Regions from separate parts of the Homo sapiens genome. Here regions 1, 2 and 3 are each linked to region 4. Evidence: promoter capture Hi-C in human tissues and cell types (Jung and others, 2019). All regions are on one chromosome and are shown on one strand. The core of a region is centred on a gene start or on the middle of the fragment in contact, and the rest is flanking DNA. Distances in the headings are between cores, read along the strand shown.

Region 1 (5,516 bases), core at 1,712-4,211, 1.0 Mb before region 4:
CCTTTCAGGATGGGTTAAATGTATTGTGCACTTTTAATGCATTATCTCACTTAATTCTCACAATAACTTCATGAGGGAGGCTCTCAAGTTCTCTTTGGAGGATATCATTTTTGCCCCTCGTGAATGAGAGGGGCACCTGACTTGGACTTCTAAAGGCAGGAGGACAATAATGGAGTGGTCAGGGAAAGCTTTTCAAAAGAAGTGACATTTGAGTTGAATTTTGAAGGATATGTAAGAAGTAGGCAGGAAAAAAGCATTGCAGCAAAAGAATGTGTGAGAGCATGCATGCTGCAGGAAGCCGTGGGTGTGCTTGGTTCCTGCTGGGGGAGATAGGGCTGGTGATAGCTCCAGGAACCCTAGGTGGCTCTGCATGAAGTGGGGGGCAGCCCCACATTCTCCAAAAGGAAGATGCTTTCCTCTTGTCAGGCATCTCAATTTGAAGAAAAGGTAGTTCCTCTGTCTCTCACAGGCATAAAGTAGAGCACTTAGAGGATAATAGTGGAGCTTCAAAAGCCTTGTTTGTGAGCTAAATAAACAGGTGAAGTTGTGCTCAGTTAAGGATATCTTTTTGGCCCCATCTCTATAAAAACTGTTTTGGAACATCAAGTATGCTAAGGGATTATATTCTAAGTTTGGAAAAGGACCTGCAAAAGATCTCACCATTGATGTCAATGTCTGCTCCCCAATTTCCTGCAGCTCTGCTGTGTGCGTGCACCAGCTGCCTCCAGGCCAACTACACGTGTGAGACAGATGGGGCCTGCATGGTTTCCATTTTCAATCTGGATGGGATGGAGCACCATGTGCGCACCTGCATCCCCAAAGTGGAGCTGGTCCCTGCCGGGAAGCCCTTCTACTGCCTGAGCTCGGAGGACCTGCGCAACACCCACTGCTGCTACACTGACTACTGCAACAGGATCGACTTGAGGGTGCCCAGTGGTGAGTGCATGCCCTTGTTGGGCTAGTGGCTCAGCTTGGAGATAGGGTACCCCGTCATTTCATTTTTTTCTACTCTTGCCCACTCACTTGGTTTGACGATAAAGATGCCTTTTGGATGTTCCCGAAGGTGACAAAGGCTGGGGTTTCTCAGCAGTTGCTTTTGTAGATTAGAGGGTGAGGAAGCAGATTTTCAAGTTAGTCCCAGAGGTGCCCGCAGTGTTTAGAGTAGTGGCTTAGCAGCCATAGGCAGCGGTGAGGAGTGGAAGAACCAGGCAGGGATTCCCACGGGAGGATGTGGGACTGATCCAGAAAGAGATGGCCCCAGAGCCGAGCAAAGGTGACTCCTCAAGGGAGGATGATGGTTAGATGTGAGGAGGGACCAGAATAGGAAAAGGCCAGTGACCAAAGCCGAGAAACACCACATACCATCCTTTTGCAAGCCTACCATTCAGGAGGCATTACTGTGGAGCCCACAGGAAAAGGAGAGAAACTAAAGCAGAGCTTAGAGGAGCTGTGGGAAGTTAAAGGGCAGAAACAGGCATCTGTGTAGGGGCCTGAGGCGGGGATAGTACCACGAAATGCGTGAGGTGACAAAGTGGGTTGTGGGTTTGACTGTGGAAAGAGGTGCCTTAACTAAAGAAGTTGGGCATTTGAGAGCATCTAGGCAGCAAGACTAGCCCAGAAGATTAGAGAGATCAAGGGAGCCTGAACACATCGACAGGGAAAGGGGTCTTTTTCACTCTTCACTTTGAGGGGGGTGTTTTTACTCTTTCCCTTGTTTTTACTTCTCATTCTTTCCCTCTCCTCTCTCACTTGACTCAGGTCACCTCAAGGAGCCTGAGCACCCGTCCATGTGGGGCCCGGTGGAGCTGGTAGGCATCATCGCCGGCCCGGTGTTCCTCCTGTTCCTCATCATCATCATTGTTTTCCTTGTCATTAACTATCATCAGCGTGTCTATCACAACCGCCAGAGACTGGACATGGAAGATCCCTCATGTGAGATGTGTCTCTCCAAAGACAAGACGCTCCAGGATCTTGTCTACGATCTCTCCACCTCAGGGTCTGGCTCAGGTACCAAGTTCTTCAGGGCATCATGTCTGTGGTTGGCTTTCATCAGTTTCCCAGCAGGATAGAGTGCTTGTAGAGAAGGCTGGAGGCCCTGCATTTGTTTCTACCAGCATTGAGTCATTTGGTTTCCTAGTTCCCCTTCTTTTGGAGTCTGACGTGTAATAAGATAAGATAATGGGTTCACAGAAAATCTCTCATTCCGTGGGATTCCCAAGGTCTAGTACACAATTATCCACTACAGAAGTCCTGCCTCTCTAAGCTTTGCAACTGTACGTACATCTATTAAAATTCAGCTGGTCCCACCTGAGCAGTGGAGTGCTCAATTTCAGGGCCCCTTTTGAGAAACAGGAGTGTGCCAGATTCCTGTGAGGTGGTGACAGCTAATCATTGATCTCTGAGCAACCACAAGGGGAGTTTAAGGACATCCAGTAAAGCTTAGAGTTGGGATTTGGTGAATCATTGACTTGTACCAGTTGCCCAAGGGTTTTTGGTGGGGGTGAAAATAAAGGCAGTGTGGGCCTCCAGCATAGCATCAGCACTATTTCCTGTACTGCCTTTTGTTGACCAAGTCTTTCTCAGATGAGGGAAATGAACCAAACACTGGACCTTGGCATAAGACGAGAATTTAAGATAAAGGAGCTCGGGGTTGTTTAGGTCTCAGGGTATAGCTCAGCTAGCTATTAAATGTGAACATGAATGCAAAAGAATTTTTTTACTTACTTATTTATGTATTTATTTATTTAGAAACAGAGTCTTGCTCTGTTTCCCAGGCAGGAGTGCAGTGGCGCAATTTCCGCTCTCTGAAACCTCCACCTGCCTGGTTCAAGTGATTCTCCTGCCTCAGCCTCCTGAGTAGCTGGGATTACAGGAATGCGCCACCACAGCGACTAATTTTTGTATTTTTAGTAGAGACAAGGTTTCGCCACATCAGTCAGGCTGGTCTTGTGTTCTTGACCTCAAGTGATCCGCCTGCCTCGTAAAGAATTTTTTTAATGAAGATAAACCATTATTTTTGTGACAATGGTATTGCATTCCTTTTTTTTTTTTTTTTTTTTTGTTTTAAGATATGGTCTCGCTCTGTTGTTGCCCAGGCTGCAGTGCCATTGTGCAATCACAGCTGACTGCAGCCTTAACCTCCTGGGCTCAAGAGATCCTCCACCTTAGTCTCCTGAGTAGCTGAGATGTCAGGCATGTGCCACCAAGCCTGGCAATTTTTTTTTTTTTTTTTTTTTTTGTGGAAGGTTTCACTTTGTTGCCCAGGCTGGTCTCAAATTCTTGGCTTCAAGTCCATTCTTAAAAAAGAAAAAAAACATCCACAAAGATCACTGTTGCCATTCTAGCTAAAACGCAGAGGATCTTATTTGTGAGAACTTTGCGTGTTTTTATGTATGTTTCCTTGACGTGGGACAAGACTGTTGTTCTGTGGGGAAATTATGCCATCAGTCATGCCCAGACATTCTGCTTGACACGGGAGTACTTTGAGCTGTGACATCTCCTGAATTTCAGTGGCTTTGCTTTTATTAAGCTCTGCAGTAGAGAGCACCAAAATGATGGATATATTTAAAAGCTGCATATTTTTAGAAACAGCAAAAATCTAGGGCTTGTTCCTTGTTGAAAGAGGTAGGGCAGTGGTTAGAACCTCCTGGCTGACTGTGGGAATTGATTTGCTGCTAGAGGAGGGTAGATTGGGTTTTCCAAAGTCTTTTTAAGACCCAGACCAGCTGAAACAAGGGAAGGGCCATGGTAGTTGTTTAGTCGTCTGTGGTAAAATGGTTAATAACTATTTCCCTCTGAGTGGTTTAGTATATTCTTCATTCAGAATATGCAGAGCTTCCAAGGTGTTAGGTTTCTAATAATGTGGTTTTTAAAGTAGTAAGTCCATGCTGCTCATATGACTTTCAATTCATTTAAATAAGTATATACTGAATACCTTCTGGGTGATATGGTTTTAAACAGATTAGAAAGAGCCTGACCCGGCCAGGCGCGGTGGCTCACGCCTGTAATCCCAGCACTTTGGGAGGCTGAGGTGGGTGGATCATGAGGTCAGAGGAGATCCAGACCATCCTGGCTAACATGGTGAAACCCTGTCTCTACTAAAAATACAAAAAATTAGCCGGGCGTGGTGGCGGCGCCTGTAGTCCCAGGTACTCAAGAGGCTGAGGCAGGAGAATGGTGTGAACCTGGGAGGCGGAGCTTGCAGTGAGCCGAGATCACGCCACTGCACTCCAGCCTGGGCAACAGAGCGAGACTCCGTCTCAAAAAAAAAAAAAAAAAAAAGGCTGACCCAGGATTGGATCAGAGAGACAGGAATTGTTGGGAAGAGTCTCACAGAGGAGGGCACATTTAAAGGAGTCTTGAGGCCGGGCAGATCACATGAGGTCAAAAGTTTGAGACCAGCCTGACTAACATGGTGAAACCTCGTCTCTACTAAATACAAAAAATTAGCCGGGTGTAGTGGCACACGCCTATAATTCCAGCTACTTGGGAAGCTGAGGCAGGAGAATTGCTTGAACCCGGGAGGCAGAGGTTGCAGTGAGCCCAGATCATGCCATTGCACTCCAGCCTGGGCAGCAAGAGCAAAGCTCCGTCTCAAAAAAAAAAAAAAAAAAAAGGCCAGGCACGGTGGCTCACACCTGTAATCCCAGCACTTTGGGAGGCCGAGGCGGGTAGATCACCTCAGGTCAGGAGTTCGAGACCAGCCTGACCAACATGATGAAACCCCCATCTCTACTAAAAATACAAAAATTATCTGGGTGTGGTGGCGGGCACCTGTAATCCCAGCTACTCAGAAGGCTGAGGCAGGAGAATCACATGAACCTAGGAGGTGGAGGTTGCAGTGAGCCGAAATCATACCATTGCATTCCAGCCTGGGTGACAGAGCGAGACACCATCTCAAAAAAAAAAAAAAAAAGGAGTCTTGAAGAATGAGTTGGAATTTTTAAGAGAGGCGAGAGGGCAAAGAACATTCCAGGCCAATGAAAATACCTTGAGTAAAAAGACAAAGGCATGAAGGTCCACTGTATGTTTAAAGAACTTTTATGATGAGGAGACCAGCATGATGTGCTTGTGCTGGGGAAGCAGGGGGACGTCAGGCTGCCCCAGGTGTACAGGATCTTGAGGGCTGACCTTTATCTTCTAGGTAAGGGGCTTCTACTGAAAGTTTCCATGTGGGAAATGAATGTTCATTTTTTCCTTTGGAAGGAATTCTGGCAGTGGTGTGGAGGATGAATTCATTCACTACCAGCCTTCTGTTGGGAAGGGTGGGGTGAGGCGGGGTGTGTGTGGGTGCACAGGGCAAGAGCAGGCTGAGATGGGAGGCAAAAGACCTGTTGGAAGTCTTTTAGAGAAGGTCCAAAAGTAGGACAGGCGGACGGAGATGGAGAGGCGGGGGCTAATTTGAGAAACATTTTGGTGGTTCTATACTGTTGTCATTAAAAGCATAGATTATAGAGTCAGACAGTCCTAGATTTTAAGCCCTGCTTTGCCACTTACTGCTTGTATGAATTTGAATA
Region 2 (5,314 bases), core at 1,787-4,286, 1.0 Mb before region 4:
GAGACCAGCCTGACAAACATGCTGAAACCCCGTCTCTATTAAAAATACAAAAATTAGCCAGGTGTGGTGGTGTGCCTGTAATCCCAGCTACTCAGGAGGCTGAGGCAGGAGAATCACTTGAACCTGGGAGGCAGAGGTTGCAGTGAGCGGAGACTGCGCCACTGCACTCCAGCCTAGGCAACGGAGTGAGACTCCGTCAAAAAAAAAAAAAAAAAAAGCCAAAAACATCATAGCTCACTGCAGCCTGAAACTCCTGGGCTCAAGGAATCCTCCTTTGTCAGCCTCCCAAGTGGCTAGGATCACACGCACATGCCACCATACCCGGCTAATGTTTAAATTTTTTGTAGAGATGGGGTCTCACTTGTTGCCCAGGCTGGTCTCAAATTCCTGGGCTCAAATTATCCTCCTGCCTTGGCCTCCCAAAGGGCTGGGATTACAGGCCTGAGCTACCATGCCTGGCTTTGTTTCTGTTTAAAGACACCTTATTTAATATATATTGTTGGTTCATTAACATTGAACTTTACTGACAGCAGCACTATTAACTCATGCCTGAACTAAGCTTCTCTAACATGTATTTTCTCTGTGAGGCATATCACTATCTTCTTGCACTTAGGAACTCTAGACAGCACTTCAGCACTACTTGTGGGGGACCATTTTATACAGCAAAATCATCAATGAAAAGCATGACACTAAATATACTGCAGAAAGGATAACTTGTTTACAGTATGCCAGCTGAAACAAGAAGGCAGGGTGTTGCCTTGTTTGACCTCAGTTGGGAATGCATGTGGTGGGTGTTTCAGATGTTTCACTATTCTGTGCATGGCTGTCAGTGAGCAGGAAGGTACCATGAATGTTGATATTGGGGTTACAAATAAATTTGCATTAACCATATTTTGTTAGAACTGTATACAAAAGTGGTAGAAATAAAATTGTAGAATTTCACTAAACCAGAATTTTAATACATGTAGTTAGAAGTCCCATTTCCAGACTGCAAACTAAACATATGCATGTTGAGTACCTACCATGGTGATCTAGGGCAGTGGTCCCCAATCTTTTTGACATCAGGGACTGGTTTCGTGGAAGATAATTTTCCCACAGGGGAAGTAGGGGAGATATGATTTTGGGATGAAACTGTTCCACCTCAGATCATCAAGCACATCAGGCCGAGGTGGGTGGATCACCTGAGGTTGGGAGTTCAAGACCAGCCTGGCCAACATGGTGAAACCCCATCTCTACTGAAAATAAAAAATTAGCCGGGCATGGTAGTGGCAGCGCATGCCTGTAATCTCAGCTACTCAGGAGGCTGAGGCAGGAGAATAGCTTGAATCCGGGAGGCGGAGGTTGCAGTCAGCCGAGATCACGCCACTGCACTCCAGCCTGGGGAACAGAGTGAGACTCCTCAAAAAAAAAAAAAAAGAAAAGAAAGATCATCAGGCACATCAAGCATGTTAGATTCTCATAAGGTGCATGCAAGCTAGATGCCTCGCATGCGCGGTTCACCGTAGGTTTCCCACTCCTATGAGAATCTAATGCCGCCGCTGATGTGACAGGAGGCAGAGCTCAGGTACCCGCCTGCCACTTACCTCCTGCTGTGTGGCCTGGTTCCTAACAGGCCGTGGACCAGTACCGGTCTGTGGCCCCAGGGGTTGGGGACCCCTGATCCAAAGGGTCCCTTGACACATATTTATTGAGCACCTGTCATATACTAGGCATTGTTGCAGGTGTTAGGGATACAGTAGTAAACGAAAGGAGACAAAATTGCCTTCTCTCAGAAAGCTTACCTTCTGCCAGGTGAGGTGGACAATAAACAAAAGTATAAAATGTAAAGCAGTTGTGCCTACTACAGTCCACCTTCTGCTCCTCACTTCCCCAAGATTCCCCATGTTTGGTGTACACACACCTGCTTCAGGTATTCAGTCAAATGCTAGTCTTTGTAGATAGAATTAAGGTCTCAATCAGTTGACCTTTAGCCATCTAAAGGAGGTTATCATGGTGGGTCTGTCTTGATTGAACTAGCCCTTTCAAAGCAGAGAGATTTCTCAGCTGATTGCACAAGAGGAAATCAGATGTTCCAGCTGGCTTGGAAGCAAGCAGACGTCCATGTTGTGAACTGCCGATCCCAACAGCCACATGGCAAGGAACTGCAGGCAAACTCTAGGAGCTGAGAGTGGTTCCCAGCTGACAGCTAGGAGGAACATGGGGACCTCAGTCCTTCATCTGCAAGGCAGTGGATCTTGTCAACAACCAGTAAGCTTGGAGGAGGACCCAATCCTAGATGAGAAGGCAGCCCTAACTGGCACTGTCGGTGCTGTGCCTGGACTTCTGACCTGTAGGAACTGTGAAATAGTAACTAGGTGGTGGTTTAAAAAATGTATGCATTGGGTGGGGGTGAGTCAAATGGTGATGGTGAAAATAGGTAAAGCAAGAGAGGGGAATAATGAGAAATACCCCAAGATAGGCATGAGGGTACTTGAGACCTGGTGCCCAGCCATCCCATCACTCACATATAAAAATAAATCCTTTGACCACATGTGGCTTTCATCTGACTATAACTTTTTTCTAGATATTTGTGAGTGGAGGGGAGAGGGGATTGTGGATGCTTTGGAAATAAGTTTTTTAGGTGCTTGGGATGTTTGAGTTGAGGAATCTGGGAATTGAAGTATTTTCTGGGTTTTTTTTTTTTTTGTGGTAGAGGACTCACCTTGCCCCACATCCTTGTATATTGCTTTGGTATATGTTTGCATATTACCTTTTATACCTGTAGAAGATAAGATTGAATTGTAATCAGTCAGTGTTCATTTCTGATATCCAGGATGTGCCTAGCACCAAGCTGAATGCTGAGAGGGATCCTGAGGAAAGAGTCTGTCCTTGCCCTTTGGAAGTTTACACACAGAGACCGGCCACAGTGGCTCATGCCTGTAATCCCAACACTTTGGAGAATGAGGTACAGGGGATCGCTTCAGTCCAGGAGTTTGAGACTAGCCTGGGCAATATAGTGAGACCTCGTCTCTACAAAACATTTTTAAAAATTACAAGGGCTTGGTGGCGTGTGCCTGTGGTCCCAGCTACTTGGGAGGCTGAGGTGGGAGGATAGCTTGAGACCAGGAGATTGAGGCTACAGCAAACCATGATTGCACCACTGCACTCCACCCTGGGTGACAGAGTGAGATCCTGTCTCAAAAAAAAAAGTTTACACACAAATGGACTTTTTTTCTGCTTGTTGGAACTACCACAAACTATGAGGAGTTCAGGTGACAATTGTAATAAAAGCATCTGATTTGCTGAATGTTTACTATATACTAAAGTATTATGCTAAGCACCTGTGTTGTATCATTTACTCTATGTAGTTATTCTTTGAGGGGCTAGGGGCTCTTATTCCCATTTTACAGATGAGAAAACTAGGGCATAGAGAAGTTAAGCAGTGGGTCCAAAGTCTATCCAAGTCCAAAACATGTGCTCTAAATATTGTACTGTGCTATAAACTGTGAGTACTGTAAAAGTGACCTTCTAACCAGGCTCTCTGCCTTCAATCTCCCATTTGTTTTCCATCCTACGGCTAGATCTAACTTTGGAAATGCACCCTGTTTGTCTGACCTAGAGGTTGTGTGGCTTCTAGGATCAACTCTAGACCCCTTAGCTTAGCATTGCAATCAGTTTCATCTGGTCTTAGTCTCCCTGACTCTTCTTGCCTTTGGCTGGAACCTTGGCATTGTTCGAACTGTCAATTTACTCTGAACCCAGTGTAGCTAATATTTTTTCACAGCCCTTTGCTTTCCCTTTTCCTTTTCTCTGGAATGCTTCTCCCCACTTCTCTTCCTAGCCAAACCCAGCGTCCTCCAGTGTGGACCTTCGTCCTCTTGTGTTCTCCCGGTCAGTGATTCCATCCTCTCTGCTTTTCCCCTCAGCCTGTATTGGTAGTTGGAGTTGCACTGTTTATAGTTGTCTTCTCCCACTCTCCATGCCCAAAGAATTGGTGCGGGGAGCTGGCTTATTTGTTATATGGCTTCGGCCTGCACAGAGCCTTGCATGTTTCAAGTACTTAATAAGTTTGTTTAATTGAATTAATTCATTTCTTTTCCATCCTCTCAGTAAAATCCTAGGTAAATAATTCCAATTCTGTTTTGCTCTAATGTTATTATAATCTTGTATATATAGTATTTTAAACCTACTCAAAAAATGCCGCAAACATTTGTGAGTTACTTGGAACATCATAATCTCTCTTTCTACCTCACCTCTTTCATCTCTGTTTATCCTACCACCTACCCATTTTATTCCAGCCAAATGAACTTGATCTCTCAACCTCATTAGTTTTATTCTCAGTTTGGCTGATTTCTTTTTTCCTTTTCCATTGTCCCAGTTGCCTGAAACAATCATTCCTATCCCTCTTCTCACTCAAAACTGTGACATACACGGTCTCCTCTCCATTCGTCCATACTATAATAAATAGGTCAGGAAGAAAATACCAGGGATAAATATCCTTCCCTGCTCTATTGAGCCAGAAGTATGTTTATTCAGACTCAACAAAGAAAACAGTGGTTTTACATGTTCATCATAAACTGATATCAAAGGAGAAATGCAATTTCCTGATTGTCTAAATATGACAGCTGAGTCTGCACACATAGGTCCCAGGAACATTGGACACACTCCCTCATAATGAGGCCCACTCATTTCAGTCTTACCTTGACATTCTCTTGGGCAGCAGGTGGGCCCTTGCTAGATGTTCAGGTATTTACAGTCAGCCATAAATTAAGTTGCAATGACAGGTCTCCTTAGCATAAACATCAAACGTCTCTTCTGAGTGAGAACAAAGCTTTCATTCTCTAACTGAGACTTAAGGTTGAACTTGTTTAAACAGCTCTCTAGGGCTGGGTTTGTCTCCAAGTAGAATGTCAGAAAGGCAGTTTGTAGAATGGATATAGTGTGGAGCTGGCTTTCCAAACACCTTTCTCTTATGCAAACCCCATTCCAAGACCTTTTCCCAGATTGGAATTAAATACCAAGCTTATCAAGTGTCTTATTGTTAAATCTGTGTTTCTCCCCACCCCCCACCATACAAATAGCTTCCTTTATTAAGTCAGTTATATTTTTTTTCATAAGTACTTTTTACCAGTACATTTGTTGTTGTTGTTGTTGTTTTTCTGTATACCACCATTGGCACCTGTAAAATTTGACTTTATTATGGCTTGTGGGTACTTGAAAGCTTTTTGTTTTAATGTATTTTTAAAATCTAATTTTGATGATTGTAAAAGGTGAAAATGTAACTTGGGTCTTTTTTTCTTTTAACCAAATAGCATGTGATTGCTTTACTGCTGCA
Region 3 (5,386 bases), core at 302-2,801, 1.9 Mb before region 4:
GAATCTCTCGATGGTTCACCTCCTGTTCCTGGGCAAACTCACAGAGTGTATAGCTCCGTACAGAGTTATGGCGCTGGGCCATGCCCAGAGAGCTACCACCCTGGCTGGGCACACTGGTAAAACCTTGGCGCCGGGCAAAGTAGTATACAGTCACCTGGTCAAAGCGTACATTCTTCCTCCGCAGCTGCTTCTGCCGCTTCAGGATGGATGTGGCTGAGAAGGGAGCACAGAGAGATGTTTTATTTATTTTTCTATTTATTTATTTAGAGATGGAGTCTCGCTCTGTTGCCCAGGCTGGAGTGCTGTGGCACTGTCTCGGCTCACTGCAGCCTCCACCTCCCGGGTTCAAGCAATTCTCCTGCCTCAGCCTCCTGAGAAGCTGGGATTACAGGCGTGTGTCACCACGCCCAGCTAATTTTTGTATTTTAGTAGAGATGGGGTTTCGCCATGTTGACTAGGCTGGTCTTGAACTCCTGACCTCAGGTGATCCGCCCGCCCCGGCCTCCCAAAGTGCTGGGATTACAGGTGTGAGCCACCATGCCTGGCCGAGAGATGCTTTATTAACTCAGGGATGACCTGTTTGGGGAGCTTGCTCTTTCTCATCCATCTAGGCTCTCAACTCTTCTTCTCTAAACGTGCTCTCTATATCTAGAGAACTGTCTAATATCTTCAAATCCTAAATGCTCTGTCAGAAGGGACCTTGAACTTCAGCTGGTTCATACAACTGCCTCCAGACTGACTATACCTAAACAGATGACCACAAAATCCATTTTTAGACATCAGCTGGGAAGAGGATCTCTAGTTAATCTTTTCTGGATATAAGAATCTACAGCTTTACTGTCCAATACAGCAGCTACTAGCCATGTGTGGCAATTTAAGCTAATTAAAATTAAATAAAATTTAAAATTCAGCTCAGGCCGGGCATGGTGGCTCATGCCTGTAATCCCAGCACTTTGGGAAGCCGAGGCAGGCAGATCATGAGGTCAAGAGATCAAGACCATCCTGGCCTACAGGATGAAACCCCATCTCTACTAAAAATACAAAAATTAGCTGGGCATGGTGGCACATGCCTGTAGTCCCAGCTACTCAGGAAGCTGAGGCAGGAGAATCACTTGAACCTGGGAGACGGAGGTTGCAGTGAGCCGAGATTGTGCCACTGCACTTCAGCCTGACGACAGAGCAAGACTCCATCTCAAAAACAAACAAACAAAAATTCAGCTCAATTATACTAACCATATTTCTTTATTTTCTTTTTTCCTTTGAGACAGGCTCTTGCTCTGTCACCCAGGCTAGAGTGCATGGCACAATCACGGCTCACTGCAGCCCCAACCTCCCAGGCCCAAGTAATCCTCCCACCTCAGCCTCCAGAGTAGCTGGGACTACAGTTGCACACCACCACACCCAGCTAATTTTTGTATTTTTTGTAGAGACGAGGTTTCGCCATGTTGCCCAGGCTGGTCTTGAACTCCTGAGTTCAAGTGATCCACCCATATCAGCCTCCCAAAGTGCTGAGATTACAGGCGTGAGCCACTGCGCCCAGCCACTAACCACATTTCAAGTGCTCAATAGCCACATATGGCAACTGGCTACTGTTGGACAATGCAGATACAGAACATTTCTATCATAACAGAAAATTCCATTGGATAGCATTGATCTGTAGCAGGGGACAGCAAACTGTCAAGAGCCAGACAGTAACTATTTTAGGCTCTACAGGCCATGAGGTCTCTGTTGCAATAATTCAACTCTGCCACTGTAGCATGAAAGCAATCATACACAATGGGTATAACTGTGTTCCAACAAAACAGGCATTGGGCCAGATTTGGCCCATGGGCAACCCCTCATATATAGTATCAGTTCTTTCCAAGAACTAATAGAGCCGTAAGAATTAAGAAAGCTTGGCCGGGCACAGTGGCTCACGCCTGTAATCCCTGCACTTTGGGAGGCCGAGGCGGGTGGGTCACCTGTGGTCAGGAGTTCAAGACCAACCTGGCCAACATGATGAAACCTTGTCTCTACTAAAAACACAAAAAATTAGGCGGGCGTGGTGGCAGGTGCCTATAATCCCAGCTACTGGGGAGGCCTGAAGCAGGAGAATCACTTGAACCCGGCAGGCAGAGGTTGCAGTGAGCTGAGATCTCGCCACTGCACTCCAGCCTGGGCAACAAGAGCAAAACGAGAAAAAAAAAGAATTAAGAAATCTGGATTTGCCCCAGTTGTCCAAGCAGCAAGCATTTATATCCTGCTACAGCTACAATTTCCTGGAACTCTCTGGGACTCTGGTGGGGGCAGGGTAGAGTCCTAGACTCCTTTTTCAATCTAATTTAACCCATTCTGGGAACCAGCAACCCACAAGACAAGTAAAATCAGCTAGAATAAATCAGACTTTAGTCTACGGTATGAGAGAAATGAGGTCCTCCAAAGAGCAAGGAAAGATGATGATTAAGGGCAAATCCCCAAGCCACACAGACGCTGTCTCGAGCTGCCATGGGTTCTGCTGCTTGGGGAATGTGGGTATAGGCAGGGACGGAGCAGCTTACTCACGTGTGAAGCTGGCAGTGGTAGGAGGATTGAGGCTGTCGCAGCTGTCAGCACTATCACTGCTGGAGATCTCATCATCTGAGTTGGAAACTGATGAGCCCACATCCACATCATCAAACTTCCTCTTGAGACCCGAGCCCGTGAATGCATCCATTGGTTTCAAAGGGGTTTCCTTGGGGAGCCCACCAAGTTGGCCCCAAAGCCCCTACTCACCACCAGCTAGCCAGGTACATTAGGATTCTGCCCAGGGAAAAAAAGGAATCAGCATTCCTGTCCCCAGACAGACTCCTCCCCAGTCTATACACACAGCTCTCTAAAGAAAGCACCTCACCTAGCACTGATGTCTGCTTTCTCAATATTACGTTCTTTCTCTACTAGCTCTGGCCAACATTCTCCTACTTTCGTTTCCCTTCAGCCCCTCTATTCTCAATCACTCTTAGAATAATGAGATGGGTAGCAGCAGCACCTTTCCCAGTGAAGGAAAGGCCTTTGCTTCCAATCCAGCTGGGGTCTAGGCTTCATTAGCCCAGGAATCACAGTAGCTGCTCTTCTGATCATATAGAAAAGCTCTCCAAGGCACCAGTGAGAAGAACTTGAAATCAAAAACACAATTATCACTGCTGCTTGTTTGGTTGGCAAAAAAAAAAAAAAAAGGAAAAAAAGAAAAGCAGAATTAGGCTTTGCCTAAACCAAGACTAGACCCAACTATTTATCTGTTTTAGAAACAGGGTCTCACTATGTTGCCCAGGCTGGTCTTGAACACCTGGGCTCGAGCAATCCTCCTGCCTCAGCCTCCAGAGTAGCTGGGACTACAAGGCACACACCACTGAACCCGGCTAGACCCACTTATTTTTCCTAGTGATAATACAGCCCGGCATTTCCCAAAGTGCGTGTCTTATGGTATTAATAGCTTTTACATAGAAATACGACTGCTGTGTCAAAAGGGTTTTAAAAATTGCCTATAGTGGAACTTCTTAGAGGCTTTTAATATACTAATAAGGATGGTGAAGGCTGAGAGAACACAGAATGCAGTGTTTCTACAAACGTGATTAAGGAACCCACTGTTTCCAAGGTATTTTAGAGTGCAAATAATGCTTGGAATACACTTTGGGAAATACTGCTCCAGGCACTCAATTTTGAAGGACATTAGCAGTCAGGAAAACCCTTTACCCAGATCTTCATAAGTGTAAAGTGTTTCACCAGGCTTCTATAAAGGTCAAATTTGGTACCAAAGAATGGACCCAAGATTAGAATCTGCATGGCTTCAAAACCCAGAATCTTTCCCAATCTCATACTGCTCCATAAAATAGGGCTCATCTGGTCTGTCACCATCCTCTGTGCAAGGACATTGTAGCTTTACAATCTTTGCCCTCTATAAAGAAATCAGCAAGGGGAAAACAAATAGCAAGAGAAGTAACTATTTATTCTGGTTATATCAATATGGCATGCAGTGTTGTTTTCAACACACTTTCATACAACCAAGGAGTCTGAGATAGTCCATTTCCCTAGGTACAAATCTTTTTCCTCCATCTTTGGATTTAAGTTCCAGAAGGACACGAATCTGCTCAGCAGAAATGCTGTCAAAGCGGGAGCCATGTGTGATGAGACACGAACCCTCCCTTGCCTCAGTAATGCCAGAATCTCCCCAGACTATGATCTCACTAGTTGCTAATTATGCAGCAGGAATAACAACACTGCCCAGAACGACAGGGCTGCATTACTGCAGAGCAGCTACCCAGAATATACTGTGGTGTCAAGAGATGCCTGCTACAGAGCTGCTTTTCTGGACTGTGTCTGTTGGAAGCAATTTGCCTGCTCTTGGATCAGCTCTACAAAGTCAACCAGACGTAATAAGTACCTTAGAGAAGGTATTTCCTAATCTATCCAGATTGCATCAAATTCTGCATTCAAGTCACAAGATGTACCTAAGAAACCTCAGCCATCAGAAGTCTCAGACAAGCACATTCCTGAAATAAATTTGCCAGGGAAGAAAAAAAAAAATCAAGTATTTGATAAAAACTGTAATTAAATTAAAAAACGAGCCCAAAGTATCAGTTTAGTTCTTCATGTTACTGATCTTATCAGAGGTCACATTCTTAGGGCATGGTAAGAAAGGAGCGAGCCAAGGGCTTTTTATGGGTTAAGATTTTAGCTGGGTTTAAAGATACCGATCAACAAGAAGACATTTATGCATCCAACAGACACATGAAAAAATGCTCATCATCACTGGCCATCAGAGATACGCAAATCAAAACCACAATGAGATACCATCTCACACCAGTTAGAATGGCGATCATTAAGAAGTCAGGAAACAACAGGTGCTGGAGAGGATGTGCAGAAATAGGAACACTTTTACACTGTTGGTGGGACTGAAAACTAGTTCAACCATTGTGGAAGACAGTGTGGCGATTCCTCAAGGATCTAGAACTAGAAATACCATTTGACCCAGCCATCCCATTACTGGGTATATACCCAAAGGATTATAAATCATGCTGCTATAAAGACACATGCACACGTTATGTTTATTGAGGCACTATTCACAATAGCAAAGACTTGGAACCAACCCAAATGTCCATCAATGATAGACTGGATTAAGAAAATGTGGCACATATACACCATGGAATACTATGCAGCCATAAAAAAGGATGAGTTCATGTCCTTTGTATGGACATGGATGAAGCTGGAAACCATCATTCTGAACAAACTATCTCAAGGACAGAAAACCAAACACCGCACGTTCTCACTCATAGGTGGGAATTGAACAATGAGAACACATGGACACAGGATGGGGAACATCACACACCGGGGCCTGTCGTGGGGTGGGGGAAGCGGGGAGGGATTATACCTA
Region 4 (5,387 bases), core at 269-2,768:
TACTCTGACAGGCAATCTAAAGTTGCACCTAATAACTTATTACACCACCTTGTTTTAATTACTCACAGAATACTTGTTGTAATATTTTATTAGTTGCTTATTATCTGTCCTTCCCCCACTAGAATATAACCTCTTTTGGGACAGTTCTATTCCATGTTGTACCCGCAAGTGTCTGTGCCTGGCACACGGTGGGAAACAAAAATTTTCATTTAATGAATGAAATGGAACATCAGCTAGGGGAAGCATGAATAGCCCTAGTCTCAGAAATCCTAAAGGCCTAAGTTGGACTAAACCTAGTCAGCAAATTGGACCATTAAATGAGGTAAAAGCCCATGACAATTAAGTGTTCAGCATTTGTTACCTTCTTATTCCGTCTAAATATGCCTCATTAAAACCATTCTTACACAAGACGTTCGATTTGTTTTGCCTTTACAAAAAGTAATTTGAAAACAAACAGTGGTTGATGCCTGTAATCCCGGCACTGTGGGAGGCCTCGGAGGGAGGAATGCTTGAGTCCAGGAGTTCGAGACCAGCCCAGGCGACACAGGGAGACACACCGCCCCCCCCAAGCCCGCCACTCTGTCTCCACACAAAGACTTTTTTTTAATTAGCTGGTCCTGGAGGCACTCGCCTGTGGTCCCAGCTACTCAGGAGGCTGAGGTGGAAGAACTGCTTGAGCCCCGGAGGTTGAGGCTGCAGTGAGCCGAGATCGCGCCACTGCACTCCAGCTTGGGAGACAGGGCGAGACCCCGTCTCAAAAAATAAAAATAAATAAAAATAAAATCAGTGATTTCTGATGTGGCTTTTAAAAACTAGGCCGGGCGCGGTGGCTCACGCCTATAATCCAGCACTTTGGGAGGCCGAGGCGGGTGGATAGCCTGAGACCAGGAGTTCAAGACCAGCATGGCCAATATGGTGAAATATCCCGTTTCTACTAAAAATACAAAAAACTAGCAGCGAATGGTGGTGGGCGCCTGTAATCCCAGCTACTCCAGAGGCTGAGGCAGGTGAATCGCCTGAACCCGAGAGGCGGGGGTTGCAATGAGCCGAGGTCGCGCACGCCATTGCACTCCAGCCCGGACAACAGGAGCGAAACTCCGTCTCAAAAAAGTACATTAAACTCAGAATCTTCCCTTTCAGCACATCCATTTCGCCACACCCATCACCGGCTCCGTGCAGAGTAAGCAGAAGCAGCAGCGAAGCCCCGCCCTTCCCGCCACTCTTCCGGCAGGAAGTCTGTGCGTCAGGAGGCCGGCCAGGACTCAGCTCCAGCCCCGCGCTCGCGTGTAGCCCTACGTAAAGCGTGAGGGGTTTCGCGACAACCCAGGCCCCGCCCCTTTGGCCACATGTCGCGCATGTCTTCCCGTCGGACGGCGTGCCACCTCGCCGCGCAGCTTTACGAACCTAGAGCAGCGCCGCCCCGCCTCCTGTCTCCGTCCTCACCTCCCCGCCCCCTCCCAGCTTCGCGTCTCCTAGCTCGACGCGCCCGCTATAATCACGTGATTGCCTCATCCGGGTCTTTTGCGTTCTCTTTCCCTCTCCCAACATGGCGGCCTCAGGTGAGCGAGCAGCCGAGCGCGGCCAAGGACTGGGCTCTGAAACCCCCCTCCGAGCGTGATCCACTGATTTCCTGAAGTCGGGGAATTGCTGGCACTGGTTCCTTTCTGAATTGAGGGCTGCGGCAGGCTGGCGGCGTGGCCCTGTTAGGTTACTGCCTCTGGATGTTTGGGGGGGAGGGGAAGGACACCTTCCCCTCCCCCTCACACTCTTTTCACCCTTTCTGCGCGAGATTGGAATAGGCAGTAATGGTAGACTCTGGCTTGAATTGGGGAAGGAGGCGCAGAAAGGTGTGCGGGTGGTGCGAGGCCTTTTCGTAGACGTGAATCACCGTGCCCGCGTGAAGGCGTGGAGGAAGGAAGGAGGCGGTTGCTGCGCGGACGAGTGCACATTAGACTACGTCTCCAAGGCGCGAGGCTGTAGCGGACCGGAGTGGGGGGTAGGGGAGTAAGTGTGGTGGGGGGGAGCAGTTGGAACGCGAGCGCGAGTTGGTGGAGGGGCGGGGGAAGGCAGCGGTGCGCGTGCGCGGTAGGAGACACGAGGGTAGTAGAGACGGGCGCGCCTTCAATGCGTGCGCTAGAACCCAGATGGGAAGCTTTTTAACGCGCCTGTGTTGCGCACTTATGTCCTTTTAGGTTGTCTCTTCCCTTTCTAGAGTGTGGGCCCTGTGCCTGTATTCTTCTAAGGGTGTGTGTGTTAGCCTTGGAGGTTGGTGCTATTGGCGTTAGATGGGGGTGGGGAATCCAGTTAGGTGCGCCCACGTGTTGGAGAAGCACCGGTGTGCACCTAGATTTCCTTCTAGGCTTTTTTCTCATACTCAATTGGAGGCATTTTTTACTCAGCGCAGCTATATGCCAGGATCAGGTTTCGCTTCCGGCGCTTCCATGTTGGTTGAATTTGGATAGCTCCAATGGTAGATTTCAGCCTTTTTTTTTTTTTTTTTTTTTTTTTTTTAAGGTAACTGTGCAACTACCAGCAGGTACTTTTAAAATAGTGCTTACTAATGGCTGGAGTTGCTTACTTCTTTAGACAACCTTGGAGGGGAGTATCAGTGCCTTGCAAGTCTAATTACATTTCTAATGGGCTTATAAAAGCAGTGATGACCCAACATCTTGTAGCATTGATTTTAGTTTGAGGAATATAGTTTGTTTTCTCTGGCATGACCTTGCATTCTTCAAAACATTATTTGAACTTCTATCTCTGGGTGCTCATTTCTTACCTAGTAATTCATCGTCTCTATTACAAAGAAGCTAAGGGTTTTGGTTGGCTTTGGAAAATGTTGAGAAATTTGAGGTGCATTTGAACATCTTTCATTGGTGTAACGCTTGACAGTTGACCAAGCACTTTTGTGCATGTTGTCTCCTTCCATCCTGAGGTACTGCAGAGAGCTAGTGGTATTTCTCAGCTAAGGAATATTATTTAAGGCCACACTGCTCTCAGCTGGCAGAGCAAGGTCATAATCTTTGAGACTCCTTAGCAACTTAAAAGTATCAAGGTGTCATCATCAGTTTAGGACGCTGCCCGAAAGCATCTGAAGTTTACAAAAATGTTCATATTTTTTTCTCCAGTGGGCTAGTAAAAGTCCTAAATATATTTTAAACTAACCATTGCTTAAAGTACTTACTTGGTCTGGATTTGCCACCTTAACAGTTTAGTATCGTAATTTAGTGAAGAAAATCTGTGTTTTCTTAACTTTTGTGTAATTTTTAGAGGCGGAACATAGGACAGCAATTCATGTCCTTCGTTTTACCGAGTTGAGGGAAATCCAGACTGATAAAAGGGATTTACTCTGACGTCCCATTCTCTTGTTCTTCCATATTTACTCTACCCCCTTGAAAACCCTCATCTCCTTTAATTCACTTCAGTAAATCTTTTTAGCTGGTACTGGTATCTGAGCACAAGTCACATCTTTCAGTCTGTTCTTGAGGAATCTGGGGTTTATCGGATTGTTTCCCCGCTCCTCTTTCCAGTCACACTGGCTTTGTGAAGTAACCAGTATTCCCTGATGTGGGAAATGGATGTTATGTGTTCTGTGTGAAAATACATAAAACAACTTCATACGCCTCTTTTACTGTTAAATGAGACCAAAAAATTCTTTGCAGCAATACCAGTTTCCAGTGTGATCCATTATTGACCTTCAAGAACTAAGGTAGGTCTCAGAACTAACTATAGAATGAGGATAGTTTGAATTCCTAGAAACTTGATACATTGAGCCAGTACACTTAATTCCTTGCTTTGCTTCTTAAAAAGAATTCTTAAAGGCCGGGCGCGGTGGCTCACGCCTGTAATCCCAGCACTTCGGGAGGTCGAGGCGGGCGGATCACTAGGTCAGGAGTTGGAGACCAACCTGACCAACATGGTGAAACTCTGTCTCTACTAAAAATACAAAAATTAGCTGGGCGTGGTGTCGCGTGCTTGTAATCCCAGCTACTCCGGAGGCTGAGGCAGGAGAATCGCTTCAATCTGGGAGGGGGAGATTGCAGTGAACCGAGATTGTGCCATTGCACTCCAGCCTGGGCAAAAGAGCAAGACTCCATTTCAAAAAAAAATCTTAAAAATACGAAGTTTTTCATTTTTCTTAAATTTTCATTGTGACTACTTTAGTAGACTTGCCAGTAATAAGCCAGTTACCGCTTGAATCTCAGTTTCTTTATCTGGAAAGTGGTCATTATTTATCTGCTGTCCCCTTACCTAGAGGGAATCAAATGCGTTTGATACAGGTTAACATTTAAAATGCTTTCAAATTGGGCAGGGTGCAGTGGCTCATGCCTGTAATCCCAGCACTTTGGGAAGCTGAGGTGGGTGAAACACCTGAGAACAGGAGTTCGAGACCAGCCTGGCCAACATGGTGAAACCCAGTCTCCACTAAAAATACAAAAATTAGCGGGGTTTTGGGCTGGGCGTGGTGGCTCACGCCTGTAATCCAGGAGGCAGAGGTTGCAGTGAATTGAGATTGCACCACTGCCCTCCGGCCTGGGCGACAGAGCGAGACTCCGTCTCAAAAAAAAAAAACAAAAACAAACTTTAAAATTGGAAATAACATATGTAAGCTCATGCACAGGCCTTTCATTTCCATAATGCTTCAAAATGCAGTCCTGTGTGACATCTTATTTGATTATTTTTATAGGGAGAAGATGCTCTGCAGTGGTTGTTTTCATACACTGCTGACTCTCACAGTGAAATGGTTTTAAGGGGTGCCATTATATATTGCTTACAGATTCCCTAGTGTCAAGTTCCATCCTCTATCATGTATATGTTATTCTGTGAGTAAGATACCCAGAAGGCCAAAATTAAAACTCTTTATGAAAGTTTAAATACAAATACAGAATAGTGTCAATTAAGATAAAGCAGTGTTTCTAAGTAATGTCATTGAAAAAAGAGGTATATTTCATCTCAAAACATTCTGGAATTCTCTTTTCGTGATGGTAGAGGAAATAACTGAACTTGAGTACAGTATTTTAAGTAATTATTTGTAATTAGGTTTGCCTTATGTACATTTATGAGCCAGTTTCTTAAATTTGTAGTAGATACTGCTATGGTCCTGATAGTGGGAAAGTACCAAATCAAGAAGTTTAACTTGAATTTGTGTACCTCCTGTCTCCCATTTTGTGTAATGGTTAGCATGGCATGCATTGGGCACTTATTTTGTTTGATTATGTATATGATCAAATTGAGTATCCCTGGAGGGATAAGGAAAAGGTAGTATGGCATCTTCTGTCAAAATGAAGTAATTGGGCACAGAGAGGTCATGTAACTGAACCCGTACGGGGGTCAAGATGGTGGAGCTTATGAGTTTTGACTCAGTCTTTACTATGCTAAACTTACCCAAT

The links. The method cuts DNA at HindIII sites, captures the fragments that hold promoters and counts their contacts. A contact is called where the count stands out against the background at its distance.
Region 1: a fragment that was not itself captured here is called in contact with the fragment with the promoter of EIF4B in region 4 in 1 of the 25 tissues and cell types used here (aorta).
Region 2: a contact is called between a fragment that was not itself captured here and the fragment with the promoter of EIF4B in region 4, in 1 of the 25 tissues and cell types used here (dorsolateral prefrontal cortex).
Region 3: a contact is called between a fragment that was not itself captured here and the fragment with the promoter of EIF4B in region 4, in 1 of the 25 tissues and cell types used here (aorta).

The regions. Positions count from the first base shown.
Region 1 is chr12:51,974,569-51,980,084 of GRCh38, forward strand. ACVR1B (activin A receptor type 1B) reads left to right here. Exons shown (of 9, transcript NM_004302.5): 2 at 697-936; 3 at 1,759-2,007. Among named protein-coding and RNA genes, the nearest start is that of ACVR1B, 26 kb to the left of the region's middle. The HindIII fragment of the contact is 3,472 bases long and covers 1,226-4,697 here.
Region 2 is chr12:51,957,244-51,962,557 of GRCh38, forward strand. The region is part of intron 1 of ACVR1B (activin A receptor type 1B); the gene reads left to right. Among named protein-coding and RNA genes, the nearest start is that of ACVR1B, 8.2 kb to the left of the region's middle. The HindIII fragment of the contact is 3,738 bases long and covers 1,168-4,905 here.
Region 3 is chr12:51,073,870-51,079,255 of GRCh38, forward strand. It overlaps CSRNP2 (cysteine and serine rich nuclear protein 2), which reads right to left. Exons shown (of 5, transcript NM_030809.3): 2 at 2,542-2,778; 3 at 1-213. The coding sequence starts at 2,692. Among named protein-coding and RNA genes, the nearest start is that of CSRNP2, 7.0 kb to the right of the region's middle. The HindIII fragment of the contact is 6,508 bases long and covers 1-4,805 here.
Region 4 is chr12:53,004,938-53,010,324 of GRCh38, forward strand. It overlaps EIF4B (eukaryotic translation initiation factor 4B), which reads left to right and starts at 1,519. Exons shown (of 15, transcript NM_001417.7): 1 at 1,519-1,559. The coding sequence starts at 1,547. RefSeq lists enhancers at 890-1,633, 1,634-2,377. The HindIII fragment of the contact is 23,564 bases long and covers 1-5,387 here.